Linked DNA regions of Homo sapiens: all the other regions are linked to region 2. The links are contacts of gene promoters, found by promoter capture Hi-C in blood cells and fetal thymus (Javierre and others, 2016). All regions are on one chromosome and are shown on one strand. Each heading gives the region's core, a stretch centred on a gene start or on the middle of the fragment in contact. The rest is flanking DNA. Distances are from core to core; before and after follow the strand shown.

Region 1 (4,501 bases), core at 1,450-3,949, 330 kb after region 2:
TTCCATGAAAAAGTCCTTGGAAACAGGAATTCTGAAACACATCTTCACTCAGGGGTTTCGGATAAAATTAGAGCCCTTTCCTCTAGGGTAATCATGCTTGAGAATTTACATACTAAACACATAAACACAGGATTTTTTTCATTAGTTATTTTCATTTTATTTTTCCTTCATGTCATGGTAGGGGCATCTGTAGATTTATTTGTAAAATTCTGTATGTAGCTGGGTGCTGTTTTCTATGGATTAGATTCATTGTGGAGAGTGTCACACTATAAACAATGGCAAGACAGTGGCGGCAGGAGATGGGAGGTGGCCAGAGACTGAACGCAGCTGCCCCGGCTGGATGGTCTCATTGTTGAGTTCAGGGGCAGGGTGGGTGACTGAGAACCTCTCTGCAAATTCTGCCTGGCTCCCTGGCCCAGAGCTGGCTCAAAGACAGACGGCGTGGGAATCTATCTAGCTGGGGAAAATCAGAATCAGGGGTGCTCTGCTCTCAAAGGTTTTCATATGATAATTATTCAAGGCGTGGAGGACATTGACAGAGGGATGAAATGAGCTATATTAGGACTTGCCTTGGAGATGTCCCCAGGGTCCCTGTGGCTAGAAAAGCCTGGAGACTGAAATGTACCCAGGAAGGCAGCAGCCGCCGGGAGGCGGCTCACCAGATGCCAGGGCAGAAATAAATCCTGCTGGCTCAAGAAGTCAGACCAGAGAAAGAATTCAAATGCAAATAGAAAGGGCGAACTGTGTCCTTATCAGCGTTTGGCACATCTGATAAAACAATGCCTGGCCACTGATGAATTCATGAAACCCAGAGAAAAAACTAAGAAAGCTCCGGGTATGGAAAACAGAAGAGAATCCAGGAAATGGTAGCCTGGCTCTAAACAGCTAATGCTGGAGTGCCTGATTGTAGGTGAGCCCGCTGAAGGGCTGCGTTTCATTTCCAACGCCAGGTGATGTTTTCCTGGGAAAGATCTGGACTCCGCCTCGCCTTCTGCTCACCCAGGTCCACTGTTCCTGCAGCCTCGGGCTCAGCAGTGGATGTGACTTTGGGTCCAAATGACAAGTGTTCCAAGCTAATGCCACGGTCCCCATCAGCTTCTTAGCACCCTTGAAGAATTTCTCAACTCTTCCTGGTGGACCCAGATGTGTGTGTGTGTGTGTATAAGTGTATGTGTGTGTGTGTGTATGTATCAGTGTGTGTATGTGTGTATAAATGTGTTTGTGTATAAGTGTGTGTGTATAAGCATGTGTGTAGGTGTATTTGTGTGTGTAAATCTCTGTATAACTGTGTGTGTGTACATGTGTATGCGTGTCTCTGTGTGAGTGTGTATGTGTATGTGTGTATCGTGTGTGTATGTATATGTGTGTGTATAAACGTATGTGTGTATATGTATAAGTGTGTGTATGTGTGTATAGTGTTTGTGTGTAAGTGTGTACGTATAAGCATGTGTGTATGTGTGTATAAATGTGTGTAAGTGTACGCGTGTGAGTGTGTAAATCTGGGTATAAGCGTGTTTGTGTGTGTGAGTGTGTATATGTGTATGTGTGTCTCTCTGTGTGCGTGTGTATGTGTATGTAAGTGTGTATGCGTGTGTGTATGTATGTGTGTGTGTGAGTGTGTGTGTGTGACACATTCCGGCCCAGTCACCTCTGTTTCCCATGAAACTGCATGATGGGACCTCACTGCTGTACTGGTCAGGGTTCTCCAGAGCGACAGAACCACTGGGAGAGGCAGATACACACTGATTGGGAGGAACGGCTTCCACTATCCCCGTAGCTGGTGCGTCGCAGGATCTGTTGCGTGAGGTTCAGCTGGTGACCCGAAGAGGCGCGGGGGTCCTTCAGTCTGGAGGAGCAGCTTGAGATCCAGAAGAACTTAAGATTCTGCTCGAGTTCAAAAGCAGGAAAAAAGCCGAGGTCCCACTTCGAAGGCTATGAGGCAGGAAGAACTCCCCTCTCCTCCGGGGGTCAGGGGGTTCCTGGTGCGTGTTCTGTTGAGGTTTCTGCTGCTGGATGAGCCCTCACACACACACACATCAGGGAGGACACCCACTTTACTTAGTGCAGCGAGTCAAATGCTGATCTCGCCCAAAACACCCTCTGGACACACCCGGGATAATGTTTCACCCGCAGCCCAGTCAGGTTGGCACAAAATCCAGCACCGCGGCCCATCACGTGAAAAAGCTGCTGCTTCTGTTCTTCGCCACCCCTACTCCATCATGTGAAAAGCTGCTTCTACTGTTCTTAGCTCCCCCCATCATGTGAAAAAGCCGCTTCTTCTGTTCTTCGCCCCGCCACTCCACCATGTGAAAAGCTGCTTCTCCTGTTCTTAGCTCCCGCTCCATCATGAGAAAAAGCTGCTTCTTCTCCTGTTCTTAGCCTCCCCCACCCCCTCAGGCCTCCTCCCAGGCAGCTCCACACCCGACTGGGTCTCGGGGGAGCCCTGCGTCAGCACCAGCCCTCACACTTGCTATCAGGGCTCAGACCCGCGCCTGCAGCTCGATGGAGGCAGATCCCACACATTCCCCTCAACCCTTCTCCCGCCTTCCCCGCCCCTGTTACGCTCATGTCCCATTCACTCCAGAGAACACAAGCGGTTCTGGTCAGGCGGGGTGACCTCTGCCTTGGAGGGAGCCACAGCCATCTGCTCTGTGAGAGGCGGACGGGCCGCACCCAAGGCCTAGTGCGGGGGGTGTGGAGGGGCGTGTTCCCTCTGAGCTGGCTTGCAGGGGCAGCATTCAAAGGGACTTGCATGGAACATGTTGTCTTTTCCAAAATATCAAAGATGAGTAAAAATGCATATATCTAAAGCAGTAGGGGAGGTTAGCTGGGGACCCCCGAGCTCTTGGTCACAGAAGAGGGTAAGTATAGGCTGCACAACTGACCCCCAGCCTTCCTGTTGCCCTTTTAAAGGAGAGCACCCTAAGGAACTGGTCACGTTTCTAAAATGTGTGTGCATGGGAGGGTGTGTGCGAGGATGTTTGTGTGCATGGATGTTTGTGTGCATGAGAGTGTGTGCATGGGAGTGTGTGCATGGGACTGTGTGTGCATGGGACTGTGTGCATGTGAGTGTGTGTGCATGGGACTGTGTGTGCATGGGAGTGTGTGCATGGGACTGTGTGCATAGGAGTGTGTGTGCATGGGAGTGTGTGTGCGTGGGAGTGTGTGCATGGGACTGTGTGCATGGAGTGTGTGTGCATGTGAGTGTGTGCATGGAGTGTGTGTGCATGGGAGTGTGTGTGCATGGGAGTGTGTGCATGGAGTGTGTGTGCATGGGAGTGCGTGCATGGGACTGTGTGCATGGGAATGTGTGTGCATGGGACTGTGTGCATGGAGTGTGTGTGCATGGAGTGTGTGTGCATGGGAGTGCATGCATGGGACTTTGTGCATGGAGTGTGTGTGCATGGGACTGTGTGCATGGAGTGTGTGTGCATGGGACTGTGTGCATGGAGTGTGTGCATGGGACTGTGTGCATGGAGTGTGTGCATGGGAGTGTGTGTGCATGGGAGTGCGTGCATGGGAGTGTGTGCATGGGAGTGTGTGTGCATGGGAGTGTGTGCGCATGGGAGTGTGTGTGGATTCTATTCTTTACTGAGAACATGTAGGAAAGTCATTTTTTCAAAAAGCAAACACTAGTCCTGTGGGCTTTGAAGCAGCATGGGGTCATTTAAAGGCCACTCAATGCCTATCAGAGGCTCCTCCATCCTGACCTGAGATTCTGCCAACATGGTATCCAAAGGTGACTACTCGGGGACTCCCAGAGCTGTCCCAGCAAGCCGATCCCCCGGGGGGAGAAGGGACACCTCAATGCTGTAGTCAATCAATATGCGAATTAATATCCTCCCTCTTCATGCCTTATCAGAAAAACAGGCTTTCTAGAGGACATTATGTTTTTACAAACAGTGAATAAAAAGCCTTTTAAATAACCCGAGTTCAGGTTTTCAGGGGCGGGCAGTCTGCTCCCTTTAGGCACATTTAGTAACATCTACTGGGGTGCCTCAGTTTTTGCAATAGTCTGGTGCTGCCGGCACCTGAGAGGCCCCAGCGAGACCAGGCTTCCTGCAGTACAAGCACAGGGTCTGCAGATGACCTGTCCTGCCGAAAACGCCCGTTGTGCTCCTGATGAAAAACACTGATGTTTTCATTTAAAAAGAGCAAGAAAAAACAAAATCCTGTTTTCTGTTTTTTAAAAAATTACACCAAAGTTTTCCCATCAGGCAAGGTCCCCAAGCCTCCCAGGCGGATCTAGGGACTTTAATTCCCCATTATCCTCCCTCGTGGGGGCTTCCTCTTCCTGCTGCAAGGCTTGGTGACGGCGCCACCATCCTCCCACTGCCTGAGAGACACACCCAGGAACAAAACCTCGGAAGTCCCTCGGCCAGATCTACCCATGACCTGGCCTCAGTTACTCAACCCAGCCAGCCCTGAGTTAATCCTGGAAAAACCAACGAAACTTGCTTTCTTCCCACTCCACCCGCCCGGCTGTCTTCTCGGCTGCTGT
Region 2 (4,507 bases), core at 1,419-3,918:
TAGATGGTTAAAAAAAAAAATTCACACGAGCTTAGACAAAGCAAATTGAAACTGTTGGCCTTGAAATACTGGCTGAGAGAATTACTCATATTAAGTTTACCTACATCATAATAAAAGATACAATATGTTAAATGCAAAGCTTAACTAGGACCAGAATAAATTTAATAGTACAGGAAAGTTCTCGAGAAAACAAAATAGAAATGTGAGCCAGCCACTATATAGTAAAAAAGCTAAAAAACCAATATATGGACATTCTTAAAAACCATTCATTTCATTATGAAAGGCTTCTAATACAATTCTGAAGAATAATTTCTAAAAATGGAAATGTTCAGATATAAGTAGGGAGAAAAATTAGGAAATGAAATATATCATCTTTTTTTCCAAGTCCTTCAATTCTTGTTTTGCTTCAGTGTATGTACAAAGCAAACTTTCACCTACAGTATAACTGAAAAAACAGCTTTCCAAATGACAGGCCAATTTTAAAAACTAGTCATATCACTAAGAAATAAAAAGTTTCAATTGAGTGCTTAAAATAGAATTTAATTAAATCAATGAACTATAATGTTTCTGATTTGAGATTTTTTTAATGCTAACTCAATTCAAAATCCCAAAAAGCTGAATTCTCTTTATTAAACCGAAAAAAGATTCCTTTCCACCAGACTTGAGAAATCTCTCAAAAAAAAAAAAAATCCATTCAAACAAAAAAAAAAAGCTACACACCAAGAAAATGTTTTATGGTCAACTTTTTTTACCTTGTGATAAAAAGAAAAATGAATTCATTATTCTAAAAGAAAACATAATCCTGAAACTAAATTATCATGTCACCTTTCTAAAGATACACTAGTCTATGAACGAACACTTAAGTACATAGTACTAACTCCCTTACTAGAACCTAACTCATAAAATCATTACAGAAGATGAATGAATCAGGAGTAACTTAACATAACATCTATGCTCAAATTGACAACCTGAGCCTAATGGCGTGTGTCAGTATTCAACTCAGTATTAAGACAAATGGCTAGCTACCCACGTCAAGTGCAGTCACAGGTACAGATGAAAACAGAAGAAATAGAGTCCTTCCCATGACTGGCAAAAACTCAAGAAATCAGAGAAGCAATAGTCAAATTCTCTCAAAAACATAAAGTGGAATTTAATGATAAAAGGATTACATTTCGTAAGAATGTTCAAATCTGCCAAACATGTTTTGTTGCCTAGGAGCTAGTATTTTATAGCAAGTATTAACTATAAATTACCTATTACAACAAATCAAAAATAGACGCTATTAAAATGATTTCCTAAACGGGCACAAATATTGAGTGAAATTTTTTTATGCTGGTAAAGTCTGTGCAGCCACCGAATGAACAGAGCGCGGAACCGACCCTTGCGGAGCGATTTACAGGGTTGCTCCCCGACCCTTCACCTCCCTCCCCTCTCCACGGAGCCCTTCCTAGTGGACTTGGACTCAAACATTTTTTTAAAAGCTGCTCGGAACGCTTTCAGCAGCTTTGCTATAAACAACCCCCATTGTTACCAGGCCAGGAGCGAGCGTGATTTCCTCCTCCTCTCAGGGAGCCAGCCTGGGGCCGGCGCCTCCCTCCGGGCAGAGGCCGCCGCAGAGGGCCCTTCCTCGCGGCCCCGAAGGTGGAGAAGGCGCGCCTTTCCTCGGAGGCGTCCGACTCCGGGCCTGTGCCATCAGGCAGCCCGCACCTCCCGAACTTTGTGATACTGACTTTCCCCTCCCAGCTGGCAGCCTGCAAGTTTATGAACCCGAAGCACAGCGCGCGTCACAGGCTCCATCCCGGCCACGGCGAAGGGGCGCCGCGAGCCACAACCGGGCTGCAGGTGGAGGGCGCCGGCCCCGCGCGCCGCCGCGCCCCCCGCGCCGCCGGGGATGAGGCCGGGGCCGCGCCGCGCTCGCGGGGGTGGGGGCGGCGGCCCAGGTGAGCCACCAGGTGAGCGGCCGGAGAGGGGAACAGGTGACTGCCGCGCCCCGCCAGCCCCCGCTCGGCCCGCGCGACCCCGGGATACACCGCGGCAGGGGGACGGGGGCTGCGGGGGACGCCGGGGCCCGCGGTGGGCCTGGGGGAGGGGGAGGGGAGAGAAGGGGCGGAGGGGGGAGGGGGAAAGGAGGGCGGGTCCGCGGCTGGCGGGCGGCGGCGGGGGGGAGGGGCGGGGCGCGGCGCAGCGGGCGGGGGTCGCGCAGGCCCCGCGCCCGGCGGTGCTCACCTCGGTCGGCTGGCTGATCTCGAACAGGTCCAGCCGGTTGGCGTTCCAGTGGTGGATGATGTCGGCCAGCTTCCGCCGCTCCTCGTCACGGCCGCCCGCCGACATGGTCCTGGCCGCGCCTCCTCAGCCGCGCGGGGCCGGGGCCGGAGGACGGGCCGAGGACGACAGGTCCGCGGGGGCCCGGCGCCCCTCGCCACCCCCCGCCGGCCGCCTCCGCCTCCGCGGCTGCCTCCGCCTCCGCGGCCGCGCCGCGTCCTCCGACTTGGCCTCCGCCTGGGGCTCAGTCCGCGCCGCGCCGCGCCGCCTCAGCCCCGCCGGCCGGTGTGCGCCCGGCGCCCGCCGCCCGCCGCCCGCACCCGCCCGCGCCCCGCCCGCCGCCGTGCGCGCCGCCGCCCGCCGTGCGCGCCGCCGCCCCGCGCGGCGCCGCCGCACCTCCGGGCCGCTCCACTAGGTGCTGCTGCCGCGGCCGCCAGGGAGGGAGGTGTCGGAGGGCGGGCCCCGCGCGGTGCTAGGGTTCCGTCTGGACTGGCGGTGGTGGGTCCCAACCGGCGGTACCGGGTTCCTTCCCGACCAGCGGTGCTAGGTTCGGTTCGGACGCGCGCTGCTGGATCTAAATGGGCAGTGCTGGGTCCGATGGGTGGTGCTGTGTTGGGTCCGGACGCGCGGTGCAGAGTCCGGACGGGCGGTGCTGGATCCAAATGGGCGGTGCTGGATCTGGACGGGCGGTGATGGGTCCGATGGGCGGTGCTATGTTCGGTTCGGACGGGCGGTGCTAGGTCTAAATGGGCGCTGCTGGGTCCGATGGGCGGTGCTGCGTTCGGTCCGGACGGGCGGGGACGGGCGGTGCTGGGTCCAAATGGGTGGTGATGGATCTGTGGACGGGCGGTGCTGGTTCCAGACGGGCGGTGCTGGGTCCAGACGGGCGGTGGGTCCGATGGGCGGTGCTAGGTTCGGTTCGGATGGGTGGTGCTAGGTCTAAATGGGCGGCGCCGGATCCGATGGGCGGTGCTGGGTTCGGTCCGGACTGGCGGGTCCGGGTCTGGACGGGCGGTGCTGGATCCAAATGGGGGTGCAGTGCTGGATCTGGACGGGCGGTGCTGGGTCCGAACGGGCGATGGGTCCCATGGGCGGTGCTAGGTTCGGTTCGGACTGGCGGTGCTGGGTCTAAATGGGCGGCGCTGGGTCCGATGGGTGGTACTGGGTCCGGACGGGCGGTTCTGGGTCTGGACGGGCGGTGCAGTATCCAAATGGGCGCTGCTGGGTCCGGACGGGCGGTGCTAGGTTCGGTCCGGACGGGTGGTGCTGGGTCTAAATGGGCGGTGCTAGGCTCAGCAGGGGACCGGTGGGCGTGGCGGCACAGGTACGGAGCGCAGGGCCGGTGGAGCGCCCTCTCCGAAGGGCCCTGCGCTCCCCGCGCTCGCTGCTCCTCCTGCCCGCGCATTGCCCCGGGGCTGCTGCGTGTTTCTTCCAGGGTGATTCCTTTCCGCTGGGTCACTTCAAAGCCGACCTTTTCAAGCTGTTTTCTTCCGCGGAGGACACGTTGTTAGGCTTTGTGTGCATTTCAAGGGTCATGTTTTCTGAACCGCGCTCTGCCGCTCTTGGGGTGTTCGAGCCCCCACACTGCTGTGCGGTGTTCCTCTCACAGAGTGAGGTTGGAGGGTCCCACTCCCTTTGTGTGTCTCCTTAGAAAACGCCTCTTCTCTCAGACACATCGTTATCTGCCAATTCTTCGCAGACGTAGAGAACGGACTGCAGAGTTAATAAACGTCGAGGGGAAGCTTTGATGCGCCCCATTTGGCCCTGAGAGATGCCACGTGATCGTCATTTTAAATCCTGTACGTGTCCCCGTGGACGTGGAAACCTGAAATTAATTTCAGTAGCAAGCTTTGTGAATTGTAGGGATTTTTTTTCATAAGGTGTCTTTTTTGTAATTGCCCCTCCCCTCCCCCACCCTTTGTTTTGGCTGCAGAGCGCCATCTCTGCAGTCTCCCCACGCCGGGTTCAGTCAGGCGAAGTTGCGTTATCTGTGATGTGTTGTAACAAAAAGCGTTTATCTTTGAAACACTAAGGCAAGTAATGAGAAGAGTGAACTATATTTGACAAAGCCTTTTTATTTTTGTCATTACTTTTTTTTCCAATGTGGAAATAATTTTTCTCTCCACCAACTGGATTTCCTCTTTTGCAGACAATTAAAGAATTCTGTCATCCCCACTGGGTTCTGTCTTTTCTACCGCACTTGTCCAGTACAGCTACATAAGGAGGCTTCTCAGCAGAGGAGCCT
Region 3 (4,621 bases), core at 587-3,086, 350 kb after region 2:
CTGAACTACTGATTGTTTCGTGAAGTAATACCATGATGTTAAACACTGCTTTAAAATGTTTAAATCAAACCAAGAAAAATATTTTTAGAAAGCAAGCTTCTATACCTTCAAAATCTTCAAGAGGAGGAAGACGAGGATAATGGACAAAGCAAAGCTTCTGTTATAGGAATAATTATTTCATGGTTCCAGATACTTTTGGAACAGTAGAAAGTCAGCATGACCACCATCCTACATTAGAATCTCTATCTATACATGGTGAAGCCCCATCTCTACTAAAAATACAAAATTAGCCAGGCAGGGTGGGGGGCACCTGTAATGCCAGCTACTTGGGAGGCTGAGGCAGGAGAATTGCTTGAACCTGGGAGGCAGAGGCCGCAGTGAGCTGAGACGGCGCCACTGCACTCCAGCCTGGGTGACAGAGCAAGACTCTGTCTCAAAAAAGAAAAAAAAAAAGATGAAGATAAATAAATGCCTGATTTGAGAATATTGGAAGAGCTTTCTCTGCACATGTGAAAACTTGACCGAACATATGCTTCTGTTACAAAAATATCATTGTAGATGCACTGTGATTTTTAAGATCACACTGTTAAGAAATACATAACAATATTTCATTTTCATTTGTCATTAATAATTTATTGTCCTTTTTTGTGTAGCATTTAGCACATTTAAGAAATATCTATTCATAGGTAGTTATAAAGAATACATACTTCATATTTCTACTTTTACAAATGTACATTTTTTATTTCTATCCTGTTTATAAATTTTGCATTTGAAAGGTTTAGGATTTTTTTTAAAGAATGCATGGATTCTGAACACTGATTTCGAAATGCCAGTATGAACAGTGGATTGGAGCCTTCTATGAAGGAAATACTTGCACTCTGAGTTCTGTGCTCTCCCTGGCAGGGCAGTGCCTCCTGGTGCCGAGAGAAGCCCTGGGCCCTGCCTCTGGGCAGGGTTCTCCTCCCAGGCTGTGGGGCTGAGGTGGAACCAACTTCAGCAGACATGGGTTCTGAAGTCGGCTGCAGGCTGAGGTCACCTGCAATCTGGACCTTCCACAATTGCCTCCTGAGGGCACTGGCTGCTGTGTAGGTGCATCCCTCCCTGCATGCTTGTGATGCTGGCACAGAGGCCCAGGTAGAAACAGCCAGGCCCAGAGGGTGGTGGTGCCCATGCCCAGAGGGGTGGCCTTTTCCATGCAATGAGCTGTTGCCCCTGCCTTCCTGGTTCAGCCATCTCCCTGGTAAGGGCCTTTCCTTCCCTCCTGGGCCATCCTCACAGCCTCGGGTCTGTGGAGCAAGGGCTCTGCCCTTCCAGAGCTGTGGCTGAGGCTGTGTCTCCTCAACCTCACTCTGCAGGGATAGCCAAAGCACTGTGAAGGGAAAATTGTCATGAAACGGCCCAGCCTCACCATAGAACCATTGAACTATCTGCATTTCAAGAAGAAAGTTCCCAGGAGAAAGCCTTCTGCAATAGAGGAGTGGCTGGAGGCATCTCAGGGCACCAGGAATGCAGTGAGGTGGCTCCTTCTGATGGGGCCTGCATTGCTGATGCCGTAAGTCACCTGCAGACGACAGCCCTGGCACGGGGCTGCTCATGGGTCAAACCCTCATGGGATGGGGAGGGAATACACTAACGCCACCTCTCTCCTTTAACGTTTTTGTCAGACAATCAAAATAACCTCCCAGAAAAAAAACCGCAAAGTCCTCCCATTTTACTGATCTCATACATAGAGTCAGCAACGCAGGAAATAAATCTATCAGAATCCATTAAATGCCTTTCCCGCACTTCTAAATATCATTGATGAGAAAAGACACATTGATTCAGCCGTGCTTCTCAGCAGGTGGAAGGCCCAGTGCAGAGACAGCAGCCGCCAGAACTGGGGTCACTGGTGAAGGCGGAGACCTGACTTGCCCGAAGCCCGGGACCCTTCTTGAAAGACTGACACCATCAGGACTGGCCCATTCCAAAAGAGGCAGAAACACCCACAGCTGTGTAGGGTATAGGGCTGGACACCGAGTGGTCCCACAACTCCACTCCTGCCCAGGATACAGGAGACAGAAGTGGCTGTGTTCAGATCCCAGGAACTATCACCTTCCTGCTTTCATTGACAGCTTCCTTTCCTAGCAGAACCAAAAATAGCTGTCAATCAACCCTCAACTTAGTGAAAATAAAAGGACAGCAATTCTCCTAAGCAGTGCTGGGTGCATAACGGGACACACAACAAGAGTGGGATGCTTGTGTCTGAGTCCAGCTCTACCGTGGCCCAGCTGCCACCTGGGACAGGTCCTTAACTCACCCATTCAGCCTCTCCCTCATCATCCTCCCTCCCCTCTGCCCCACCTGTCGCCTTCCCCACCATCACCCTCTTTCCCAAACCAGACCCAGTTTCTAAGAAGAGCTCTAACAGCTAGTTCTTCCCCCTCAGTCACTGCTGGGCTCTCTTCTGCTGTGGAAATTTCCAGTAATGGGGAAAAGGGGAGAAAGAATACAAAAATAGCAAAGAAAGGAATGCAGTCCACATAACAAAGAGCCAGTGGGTGAAGCAAGAGAAAGAAGACCATTTTATTGATGATAAATCCAAATTCCTTGCAGGCCCAGGGTCCCTACCTGCCACAAAGCCACCTGCCACACCTCCCCCTTGGATTTGCAAGGAATTTGGACTTATTTTCAATGCACCGGGAGCCACTTCATTCTGACTGATTGTGTGAGGGACTCACTTAACACAGTCTGGTTCAGTCAGATTCTGCAGTGCTTTGGGTAACTGTCCCTGCCAAATCTCATGCTGAACTGTCATCTCTCCAACATTGGAGGGGGGCCTGGTGGGAGGTGTTTGGGTCATGGGGGCAAATTCCTCATAGTTTGGTGCTGTCCTCCTAGTAGTTAATGAGTTGTCAGGAAACCTGATAGTTTAAAGTGTATGACATCTCCCCCACTGATATGGTTTGCCTATTTCCTCACCCAAATCTCATCTTGAATTCCCACCAGTTGTGAGAGAGACCCAGGGGGAGGTAATTGAATCACTGGGCAGGTCTTTTCTGTGCTGTTCTCATGATAGTGAGTAAGTCTCATGAGACCTGATGGGTTTATAAAGGGGAGTTTGCCTGCATAAGCTCTCTTGTCTGCCACCAGGTAAGATGTGCCTTTCACTTTCCGCCATGATTGTGAGGCCTCCCAGCCATGTGGAACCGTAAGTTCATTAAACCTCTTTCTTGTGTAAATTGTGCAGTCTTGGGTATGTCTTTATCAGCTGTGTGAAAATGGACCAATACACCCACCCTTGCTCCTGCTCTTATGCTACCCCTGCTCCTGCTTCACCTTCCGCCATGAACAAAAGCTCCCCCAGGCTTCCCCAGAAGCTGAGAAGGTACCAGCACTGTGCTTCCCTCACAGCCTGTGGAGCTGTGGGCCACTAAACCTCTTTTCTATATAAATTACCCAGTCTCAGGTACTGGTCTGCAGCCTGTTAGGGACCAGGCTGCACAGCAGGAGGTGAGCAGCTGGTGAGCCAGTGAAGCTTCATCTGCATGTACAGTCACTCCCCATCACTGGCATCACTGCCTGAGCTCAGTCTCCTGTTTGATCGGCAGCAGCATTAGATTCTCATAGCAGCACAAACCCTACTGTGAACAGTGCCTGCGAGGGATGTAGGTTGCGCGCTCCTTATGAGACTCTAATACCTGATGATCTGTCACTGTCCCCATCACCCCCAGACAGGACCCTCTAGTTGCCAGGAAACAAGCTCAGGCCTCCCACTGATTTGACATTATGGTGAGTTGTATAATTATTTCATTATATATTACAGTGTCATAATAGAAATAAAGTACACAACAAATGTAATGCGTTTGAATCAAACTGAAACCACCTTCCGACTCCCACTGTTCATGGAAAAATTTTCTTCCGTGAAACTGGTCCCTAGCGCCAAAAAGATTGGGGACTACTGTTCTAGGGAATTTGAATTGGGATGGAGAGGCTGTGGCTGGGGTGCGGTGGCCAAGCGGGCTCCAAGTGTGTTTTAAGGAATTTGATGGGGATGGAGAGGTCATGGCTGGGGTGCGGTGGCCAAGTGGGCTCCTAACATCCTCTAGCACGTCTAGGTTGTAGGAATCCCAGAGCACTGTGGGCAGAGCCGGGGAGGAAGGCCCCACAGTGAGTAACAGAAACAGGGGCGCTATGACCGGGGAGGGGCTGGAGTGATGAGGGATGTGGATGTCGGATGGCTTTCCTGTTCCTGCTTCCACCTCTGCATGAAGCCCTCATGCTCCTTGACCTTGCCATCTGGGAGACATGGCTCCTTGCCCTGCACCGTCCTTGTGCCTCGGTAAACTGAACACGCTGACCTTAATAACAACTTCAGCCAAGATGTTCAAGTCTGGAGGACGGGACTGCTTGACACCACGATGAAAAATGGTGAGTCAAACTCTCAGCTGACCCAAGGATGCCGCTGGTCTGTCGGAGGTCATAGGATGGAGACTAGGGATGAGAAAGTCGTCTATGAGCAAGAATACACAGCCTCGCAGTGTCAGGAATCACACAGAACTAGGCGAACGCTCCAGGCCCATACAGGTTCAGGGACCACCATGCAGGAGGAGGGTGCCCCTGAGTTGGTGCAATGTGTGGTTCA

The links. Contacts are between HindIII fragments. The CHiCAGO score rates a contact against its expected background, and 5 or more counts as called.
Region 1: a fragment that was not itself captured here is called in contact with the fragment with the promoter of AFDN-DT in region 2 in 4 of 17 cell types (endothelial precursors, M2 macrophages, megakaryocytes and 1 more); the score reaches 11.1 in endothelial precursors.
Region 3: a fragment that was not itself captured here is called in contact with the fragment with the promoter of AFDN-DT in region 2 in 1 of 17 cell types (endothelial precursors); the score reaches 6.3 in endothelial precursors.

What each region holds. Positions count from the first base shown.
Region 1 is chr6:167,492,170-167,496,670 of GRCh38, reverse strand. No RefSeq gene overlaps it. Among named protein-coding and RNA genes, the nearest start is that of TTLL2, 170 kb to the right of the region's middle. RefSeq lists an enhancer at 2,891-3,798. The HindIII fragment of the contact is 6,893 bases long and covers 1-4,501 here.
Region 2 is chr6:167,824,957-167,829,463 of GRCh38, reverse strand. It overlaps AFDN-DT (AFDN divergent transcript), which reads left to right and starts at 2,668. Exons shown (of 2, transcript NR_027906.1): 1 at 2,668-4,061. It overlaps AFDN (afadin, adherens junction formation factor), which reads right to left and starts at 2,553. Exons shown (of 34, transcript NM_001386888.1): 1 at 2,227-2,553. The coding sequence starts at 2,331. RefSeq lists silencers at 2,401-2,600, 3,515-3,584 and enhancers at 2,751-2,830, 2,861-2,930. The HindIII fragment of the contact is 3,865 bases long and covers 142-4,006 here.
Region 3 is chr6:167,471,300-167,475,920 of GRCh38, reverse strand. It overlaps LOC105378127 (a long non-coding RNA gene), which reads left to right and starts at 3,131. Exons shown (of 4, transcript NR_134591.1): 1 at 3,131-3,187. RefSeq lists an enhancer at 697-1,210. The HindIII fragment of the contact is 3,360 bases long and covers 157-3,516 here.